Regions from separate parts of the Homo sapiens genome. Here all the other regions are linked to region 3. The links are contacts of gene promoters, found by promoter capture Hi-C in human tissues and cell types (Jung and others, 2019). All regions are on one chromosome and are shown on one strand. The core of a region is centred on a gene start or on the middle of the fragment in contact, and the rest is flanking DNA. Distances in the headings are between cores, read along the strand shown.

The links. Contacts are between HindIII fragments. The study calls those that stand out against the background at their distance.
Region 1: a contact is called between the fragment with the promoter of CORO6 here and the fragment with the promoter of CPD in region 3, in 1 of the 25 tissues and cell types used here (dorsolateral prefrontal cortex).
Region 2: a contact is called between a fragment that was not itself captured here and the fragment with the promoter of CPD in region 3, in 1 of the 25 tissues and cell types used here (dorsolateral prefrontal cortex).

What each region holds. Positions count from the first base shown.
Region 1 is chr17:29,621,349-29,624,192 of GRCh38, reverse strand. It overlaps CORO6 (coronin 6), which reads left to right and starts at 1,281. Exons shown (of 11, transcript NM_032854.4): 1 at 1,281-1,505; 2 at 2,709-2,844. The coding sequence starts at 2,772. RefSeq lists an enhancer at 1-680 and a silencer at 1,468-1,617. The HindIII fragment of the contact is 11,130 bases long and covers 1-2,844 here.
Region 2 is chr17:31,309,682-31,312,485 of GRCh38, reverse strand. All of the region lies in intron 36 of NF1 (neurofibromin 1), which reads right to left. All of the region lies in intron 1 of EVI2B (ecotropic viral integration site 2B), which reads left to right. Among named protein-coding and RNA genes, the nearest start is that of EVI2B, 3.0 kb to the left of the region's middle. RefSeq lists an enhancer at 1,205-1,284. The HindIII fragment of the contact is 2,821 bases long and covers 1-2,745 here.
Region 3 is chr17:30,377,671-30,380,370 of GRCh38, reverse strand. It overlaps CPD (carboxypeptidase D), which reads right to left and starts at 1,444. Exons shown (of 21, transcript NM_001304.5): 1 at 645-1,444. The coding sequence starts at 1,390. RefSeq lists silencers at 969-1,098, 1,399-1,638 and enhancers at 616-1,543, 1,689-1,858. The HindIII fragment of the contact is 4,583 bases long and covers 1-2,700 here.

The DNA of each region.
Region 1 (2,844 bases), core at 32-2,531, 760 kb after region 3:
TCAGGTATTTTCCTCCTAATCATGTGCCTGGAATCTTTAGGTAAAAGAGAGATGACTCACATACCCTCATACCCTGCCCCAGCACCCCTACGCCAGGAGTTATTTCTGGAGCACTCGTAACAGTTTTTTATTCTGTTCCCCTACAAGCCACTGACTCTTGATTTGATTCTGTCCCTACAAGCCACCTGGACTCTTCCTGAGAAACAAAGGAGCCTCGTGGGCCCTTCATGGTTTCTACCACCTTCCCTCCCTTTCCTCCCCAGTGCTGGTTCCTGCCCTTCAGAAGGCTGTGTTCCATTCACTCACTCCCAGGTGTGCCCTGGAGGGTGGGAAGTAATAACTGGCCCCAGATGCCCTTATGATCCAAGGGAAGAAATCCAGGCAATGTGCAGACACTGGGTAGACTGGAGCTACGGGACTGGCTGGTCTTCACTGGCTGTATTTTGATCAGGTTATCTTTAATCTCCTTGACCTCGGTCAACATTCAGTTCTGTGAATATTGGGGGAGACGGGGGAAGCTTACCTGGAACACAGTCGGGCGCCAATTCAAACAAGGCCCAGAAAACATTAGGAGTCTGGCCTCTGAGTTGGCTTCTCTGACCCCTAAAATGTGACTAGAGACCGGTGCTAGCCTCTTCCCCCTGCATCTGGGAGGGGAGGGAGTGTCAAGGTGGGTTCACTTTACACTCGGTCCTCCCCTTGTTCTTTCAGCTGCTTCCTGCCCTGCTCCATGGAATCTCATCTAATGGGGTGAAATGCCTAGCACACAGCCAGCATTTTAGGTTTCTCAAATGATCGCTATTGCCATTCATAACAATAACTAACATTCACAACCCTGTGTCGGGTGCCCTCTCACTTGCCCTACATCAGGATCAGCCTGGGTCCTCATTCTCTAGGGCCTCTTTCCCCCAGGGAGGCCTGGAAGTGCAGTCCCGCAGTCCCGGCCGATCGGGACAGCTAAATTGGGAGCGCGATTGAGGCTGGAATGCGGGTGGAGGCACCTGGTCTCCCTCGGCTGCCCGCTCTAGGGGCGCACGCCCCCTCGCCCGTTCCCTCTCCAAGCGTCCTGCTCTAGGTCTGCGAACCCGAGCCTCCCCAGCCTACCCGGGAGTCATGGAGGGAGGGAAGCAGCGTGCGCACCTAGCACACAGCTGCACATTTATTTTCGATGGTTCTCCGAGGCCGGCGGAAGCTGGGAGGGGAGTCGGGGTCGCTCGACTTTCCCGCCGCTGGAGGGGGCGGGGCAACTTGGGCTCTGGCCCCGCCCCTATGCTAGCCCCGCCCTCTTAGGTTGATGGCAGCGGCAGCTGGGGCTGCAGCGGCGCCGGGCTCTAGAGAGCCGCAGGATCGGCCAGAGTGCGGAGCTGGACACCCGGGTCCCAGATACTACAGACACCCGGAGAGGTGGCTCCTTCGCCCTGAAGCCTTCCTCGGCCCCCTACGCACTCGGGCCCCTTCCGCAGAGGATTCGCAGCGTGAGCGCCCCGCAGCCCGCTCAGGACCAGGTACCCAGCCCCCCACACCCGGCCGTCACCGCAGCCAGCGGAGCGGGCGGGGTCCCTGAGGGGCAGAGGTCTGCGCCTCCTCCCCCCGCGCCGCCAAATTCGGTTTCGGGCGGGGAGGACGTGGTGTCTATATTTGGCCGGACAGCAGCCAGCGCTCCCGGAGGGCGCAGACACCTCGTCTCGCAAGAACGCAGTGTCAGGGCAGCAGGCTGAAGAAGGGTGCAGGGAGGCCGGGCCTCAGGCTCGGGGCCGCAGACGCGCCTTGAAGGGCACACGGATGCTGGGGCTGGGGTGGGGCAGGAGCCACTGGCTGGGGCTTTGGGAGTGCTCAGTGTGTCCTCTAGGGAGACCCTAGCTGGAGAAAAGGCACCTCACCCTCCCCACCCCTGCAAATCTGGCTTGGCCGTGGCGGGGGCAGGGGTGGAGGATGGGGTTGAAGACCCCACCCCTAGAAGAGTTCACTAGGAAGAAGGCCCAACCAGGGCAGAGGACCCAGAGGAGAAACCGGACAAGCCTATGGTAGGCAAAAGCCAGAAGACCATGATCAGGGCTTCCTGGAGAAGCCAGTGCAGAAAGGAGTGGGAGAAGAGGGATCCACCTCACTCTGTGCTGCCACCCGTCCCCCCACAAGGCATGGGATGAAAACAGTAGCAGAAAGGACTCAGATTGGTGGACAGGAGGAACTTCCCCCTTGGCAAAATTTTAGGAAAAGGCAAAACCCCATCTGCCTGAACTATTCCAGAGATGCGAGTTCGGTATCCTGTGGTGGCTGCAGTCTTGGCCCCATACCTGGCTTTAAGCCAAGATCCAATGGTCAAGTCTTCTGCTTCTGGACAGGGTGCCTCTGGGAGCTACAACCACGTCCGTGAAGAGATGCTCATCAAGGCTGGCGGTGGTGGGGGCGGGGGGTGCAGGCAGTGTGGCATTGAGGCTCCTCCCAAAAACATTCCAACGTCCAGAAAGCTTTCAGTCTGTTAGGCTCCACAATCCCCTCAGCCTGGGTCTCTGTGGAGAATTCAGGCCCCAAATCCTAGCCACTTACATTAAACAGCATTTTACACAGCAAAATAACTTTCCCATACTTTGACCACCTTGAAGAAAGCTCCCTGCTTCTAGGACCAGACACTATATGGATTTATACCTGACTCCTGACCACATAACCCTTCTCATCAGCCACCCCTCCACTCCTCCTCCCTCCCGCAGCTCACAGGACTAAGGACCAAAGGCATTTCTGGGCACTGAGATCCTACCTCTCTGCCTGCAGCTATGAGCAGACGTGTGGTTCGGCAAAGCAAGTTCCGCCATGTGTTTGGGCAGGCAGCAAAGGCCGACCAGGCCT
Region 2 (2,804 bases), core at 86-2,585, 930 kb before region 3:
GTGCAGCGGCACCATCTTGGCTCACAGGCTCACTGCAACCTCCGCCTCCCAGGGTCAAGAGATTCTTCTGCCTCAGCCTCCTGAGTAGCTGGGATTACAGGCACCCACCACCACGCCTGGCTAATTTTTTGTATTTTTAGTAGAAACGGGGTTTCACCATGTTGGTCAGGCTGGTCTTCAACTCCTGACCTCAAGTGATTGGCCCACCTCGGCCTCCCAAAGTGCTGGGATTACAGGCAGGAACCACTGCGCCTGGTCCCATACATGTTTTTAAAGGGTTAGTCCCAAATCTAAAGTTTACTAGTAGTGCCTGTGTTTTCCAGCTAATTCCCACATAATTCTACTTAGAAGGAAACTTTAATTCTGATTAAGTTTGAATTGAGAAACATAAATCTGATGCCTTTCAATGTCCAAGCTTTAAAAAAAAAATCACCACAAAATTTTCAGTAAACTTACTAAATATGACACTTTATAGAAACCATTCCAAATTCTTATAATAGTTTTCGTAGAATCAGGACTAAAATGGGTTTTCAGGTATTTCTTTCCTACCCTTTATCTAAGACTACCTACAAGTGTTATTTACGTGTAATTCCCACCAACTCACATCTCCTTCCTTCATAAAGCATTTCTATTTCATAACTTTTCTATGAAAGGCAGTATAGCACATACAGTGAAATGTGATAGAAAGAAACGGTTCTGGCACAAGATTAGCATGATTTTTGTATTAGTGCCACTACTTAGAGCTGTGATACTGCCAAGTTACCCAACATCGTGGTGTCTCAGTTTCCTTATCTGTAGGATGAAAAAACCACCACCTAGCTAATTAAAATAGGATACTGCTTAGCCTTTGGTGGGTGCTCAGTAAATGGTCACTATCATGATACAAGATGGTCATCAAATACTTCCTATTGTAGTTGAAGGTCAATTTCTCTTTCCACTTTTCCTCAAGATGCAGAATGGCTGGTTTTTTCTTTTACGGTTTCAAAACTTCACTAGTTAGAGATAATACTACTGCTAAATTTTAATCTATTATATTTGCATCACAACTTTTATTATATCAAAGTAATTGATACAGCTATCTATACTTGTCTTTTGTCTAGGATATGCTCTCCAAATCTTGATTCTCTTTAAAAGATAATGGCATACTTCCTAACATATCCAACTTAACAGCATCAATTTTAAATGCTGGACCCTTTAAGTACTTATGCATTATATTTATAAGAACATGTCTATGGCCGGGCTCGGTGGCTCATGCCTATAATTCCAGCACTTTGGGAGGCCAAGGTGGGTGGGTCACTTGAGTCCAGGAGTTCAAGGCAAGTCTGGGTGACATGGTGAAACCCCATGTCTACAAAAAATACAAAAATTAGTTGGGCGTGGTGTAGTGCACCTGCAGTTTCTAACTTCTTTAGGGAAGCTGAGGTGTGAGGAGGATCGCTTGAGCCCAGGAGGCAGAGGCTGCAGTGAGCTGAGATTGCACCACTGCACTGCAACCCGGGTGACAGAGTGAGACCCTGTCTCCAAACGGAAAAAAAAAAAAAAAAAGAACATGTCTTATACACGGGGACTCCTGCTTCACTGTAACTGTCTTTAAAATGTTTAAATTTATGTTTTTCTTTTTAAAATATTCTAAATATTCAGCAAAGAAAAAGAACCAAAATCACAGATTTAAACCTCAAAGTGCCAGCCTATAATAATGAGTAAAAACCGGCATATGAGGGCTGACAAATTTGCTTGAGCAGCAGACTAAGGGATTTCTGGAAAACTCTATATAAAACGTACACGGGTACATGGGTTCTTTGGAATAATTGCTAGGTATGCTTCTGGATAGTGTCAGGGAAAAAAAAAGGGAGAGGATGGTAAGGATACTCACAGCAGACAGGAGAGCCTGAAATGAAAGGTAAATGAATTTGAAAGGATGGTTCCTTCTGGTCCTCCATTTTAGAAAGCAAGCTCCTCTTTACTGTCTCCCTGCACTCACAAACACAGGCCAGCCACAACAGAGCAGCATTTTGCCGTTGCTTCTTTCATCTACTTCAATCATCTCCCCCCACCCCCAACTTCATTTTGCCTACTTCAATCATCTACACTGCCTTCTTGCTAATTATATAACCACTGCTTTTTTTTTCACCTGTTTATTAACTTTTCTTCTTTTCTGTATCTTCTCTAGTCAATTGACCTTCCTCTTTTCTGTTCGCTGCTTCCTAGAGTTTTTGTTTTTTCTCTTTTGTGTTATTTTGTATTTCTTTGCATTGCCTTTTATATTATTCTAAATCTCCTTTTTATTCCCCTGCCCAATATTGTTCTTTACCTACAGAAACAATGTTGGTACTTCAGGTACACACCACTTACATATTTTAAAATGTGTATGCTAAATAACCTTCCACACTGGTAGTAACGCTGGCCTCATTACCGCTGGGAAAAAAGTCAGTTTTTTCCACTACCATATTCCCTATTTATTCCTCTTTTAAATCTTTCTTCTCCTTCTCTGGACTACACTGAATTGCCATCATAGAATTCTAATACAGTTTCTAGTACTCTGATGTGGCAGATCCTAGGAGGATAAAAAGCTAACTGAAGAGTGGTAGAAAGTGTTAGGATAGGCAAAAAATGGAATTTGGTTTTAATATTGCCATAACCGTTAACTGACAAGTGAAAATCTCATACATGGAGGGTTCCACCAGCTTACTACTGACAGTAGAGGATAGGAGCCTATCAAAATTGATCTTACAAACTAACCTGGGTTTAAAATTATGTTCCTGTTTGGGCCCTGTCCTTCTCTAATGCCTTTTTCAGCTAACTGA
Region 3 (2,700 bases), core at 195-2,694:
AAAAATCAGCTTCTGTCAAATAGGCAAGGGGAAGATCCTGGGAATATCATCTGCCATTTTTGGGCTCCAGTGTCCCTCCGTGGCTAAGAGGACTATCGGGAATCAGATTGCCTAATTCTAAGTCCCAGCCACACTCCTATGTAAATCAGTTAACCAATCTGACCCTCAATTTCCCCGTATGCAAAACTGATGGTGTCTATGACATCAGGTTGTGGCCAAAATAAAGTGAGATACTGCAGTCACAGAAAAAATTAGCACAGCGCCTATAACATTAGGCACTTTTGATATAAGATAACAACATTGACAGCTTATCTATAAAATGTGTGAGCTGACCTAGGTTATCCTTAAGATCTCTTCTCGCTCATATTCTATGCCCCTGTAAGAATAGGGACCAGAAATGTCAGAAAGGAGTGTCCCCTCCAGCCATCCCTTGAACAAATGACAGCCTCTAGGAGGCAATTCTTTGATGATTAGCAGGACGGGAGGCTACGCGGCCTGGGCCCTGTCCCCGTTACAGGGTGTCTCCCTTCACCTTCACCACCGCCACCCCTTATGCCAGCATTGTCTGAGCGCCTACTGGGTGCCGGAACCAGCCTCGGCCCTTGGAGGCTCACACGGACGGGGAGGGGGCAGGCAACACTCACTTGTTCCTGCGGATCCACTCGATGAGGGCGCGCACCTCGGGCACCTCGTCCAGGGCGGGGGGTTCGCCGGTGCTAAACTGGTCGGGAAAGCTTCGGTTGAGGTCGCGGCCGCGACTATTGTCGCGGCCGCTGGCCCCGGACGGGCCGCCGTCGCCGAAGCCACAGTCGCCCTCGCGGGCACGCTCGAAGCCATCGGGGTTGAGGCTGGGCAGCAGGTACACGTCGGTGGTGTTGAGCAGGCGGACCAGGCGCGGGTCCCCGCGGCGGTAGCCGGCCGCCAGCTCGCGGGCCAAGTAGATCAACACCTGGCGCGACACGGTCTCGTCGCCATGCATGTTGCCCACCAGCTTCACCTGGGGCCGGCCGGGCAGCAGCGGCCCCGCAGCGTCGGGCCCGGCAGCGTCAGGCCCCGCGTCGCCCTCAGGGATTAGCGACCCCAGGCCGGCGGTGAGGCGAAGCACCCACAGCGGCCGGCCTTCCACCGAGCGGCCGATGCTAAAGAGGCGGGCCAGGCCGGGGAGGCCCGCGGCCGCCGCCTCCCTCAGCGCCGACTCCAACTCCTCTTCGTGGTAGTAGCGGTCGAACTGGCCCTCGGCCGCCTCGGCGCCCGCGCTCGTAGTTGTGGTAGTCGCCTCCGCCTTCTTGATGTGAGCCGCCCGGGCCGAGCTCCCCAGCAGCAGCAGGCACATGAGCAACAGGAGCCGCCCTAGCCGCCAAGGCGGCCGCTCGTCCCGGCCGCTCGCCATCTTCCAGCAGCGCCGCTAACCCCGGCTCCGCTCCCGCGGCTCAGCGCTCCGGGCGGCGGGGGCCCGCCGGATCCCCTCCTCGCCTAGCAACCCCATCCCGCCCTCTGGCCGCAGCCAATCGCGGACGGGCCTGGTGGAGCGTCACCACCAGGGGGCGGGGCTTCCCTTAAAGCAGCCGATTCCCTCTGGGCGGGCCTGCCCTCCTCCCGTCCGGGACGAGTTTGGTCACTCTCTTCCTTCGCCAAGGTTCTTCTTCTCTTCTCCTCCTCCTTGTTTCGTCTTCTGCGTGTGCTCCGCTTCTCGCTTAGTCTCTTCTTTATGGCTTCTCCCCTAAATTATCACCCATTTTTCTCTGAGAACTCCTGCTAGTTCTCTTCCCATCTTTGTTGCTGCCTTTCTCAGCTGCGCTTTAATGCTTAGAACCGAGAATGGAAAGAATCAAAAGGTTCGAAAGAATCATAAGACTAGAAAAAATCAATAGGTTCGAAAGAATCTTCGTTCGGACACTCAAAGCCTTAGCCCAGTCTCCTAGGCGCCTTGTCTCCGCATCCACCCCGCCTCCGCTGGAGCCCCGCTGTCCGCGTGCGGTTGCACGGGACGCCTCGTGGGGAGGAAGGCTCGCACCTCACTAGGCGGTGCATTCATTTTTAGAGTTGCTTTCTGGAAAGGTGTCTCTTTTATGCCTAGCGGAAATGTGCTACGTAGTAGGCTCCCTTTGTGTTAATGTTGTCTATTTCTTAGGCGTCACCCCACGTTGTTTTACTGCAAATAGGTCCCTGTGTGTGCTGGCCTCGACCCTCATTAGGCAGATTTCATTTCACAGCTCACCGGCCCACTTCTCCCACCTCATCGGAGCAAGTTGTATATTTAACTGTGCCCTGGAATGACATATTTTAAAACAGCAGGTTTGACATTTCTGGAAACACTTGCTTGGCATTCCTGAACTCCTCAGTGTCAGCCAAAGATGGCAATTACAGCGTTTCATCAAGTCTAGAGAAGAGGTCTTTTAAATCACCTTTTATAGGCTTTAGTTTCTTTAGCTTGAAGAAACCCAAAACTATCCCTTAATCGAATGCGAAATTCTACCCATCTAACAACATAATCGCAATAACCGGCATTACCTTCTTTCAGAGCCAGCTATTTCAGGGCCCCTTCCCTGAACTATGACTGAACCCTACTTTAATAGAGTTCATTCATTCGTCAAGTATTTATTGAGCAACTTTTATGTCAAAGCTAGATGCTGGGAAACAATTCATTCTTCTGCCCAGTCAAGAGATTCAGTGTAGTTTGTGATAAATGCTACAACAGAG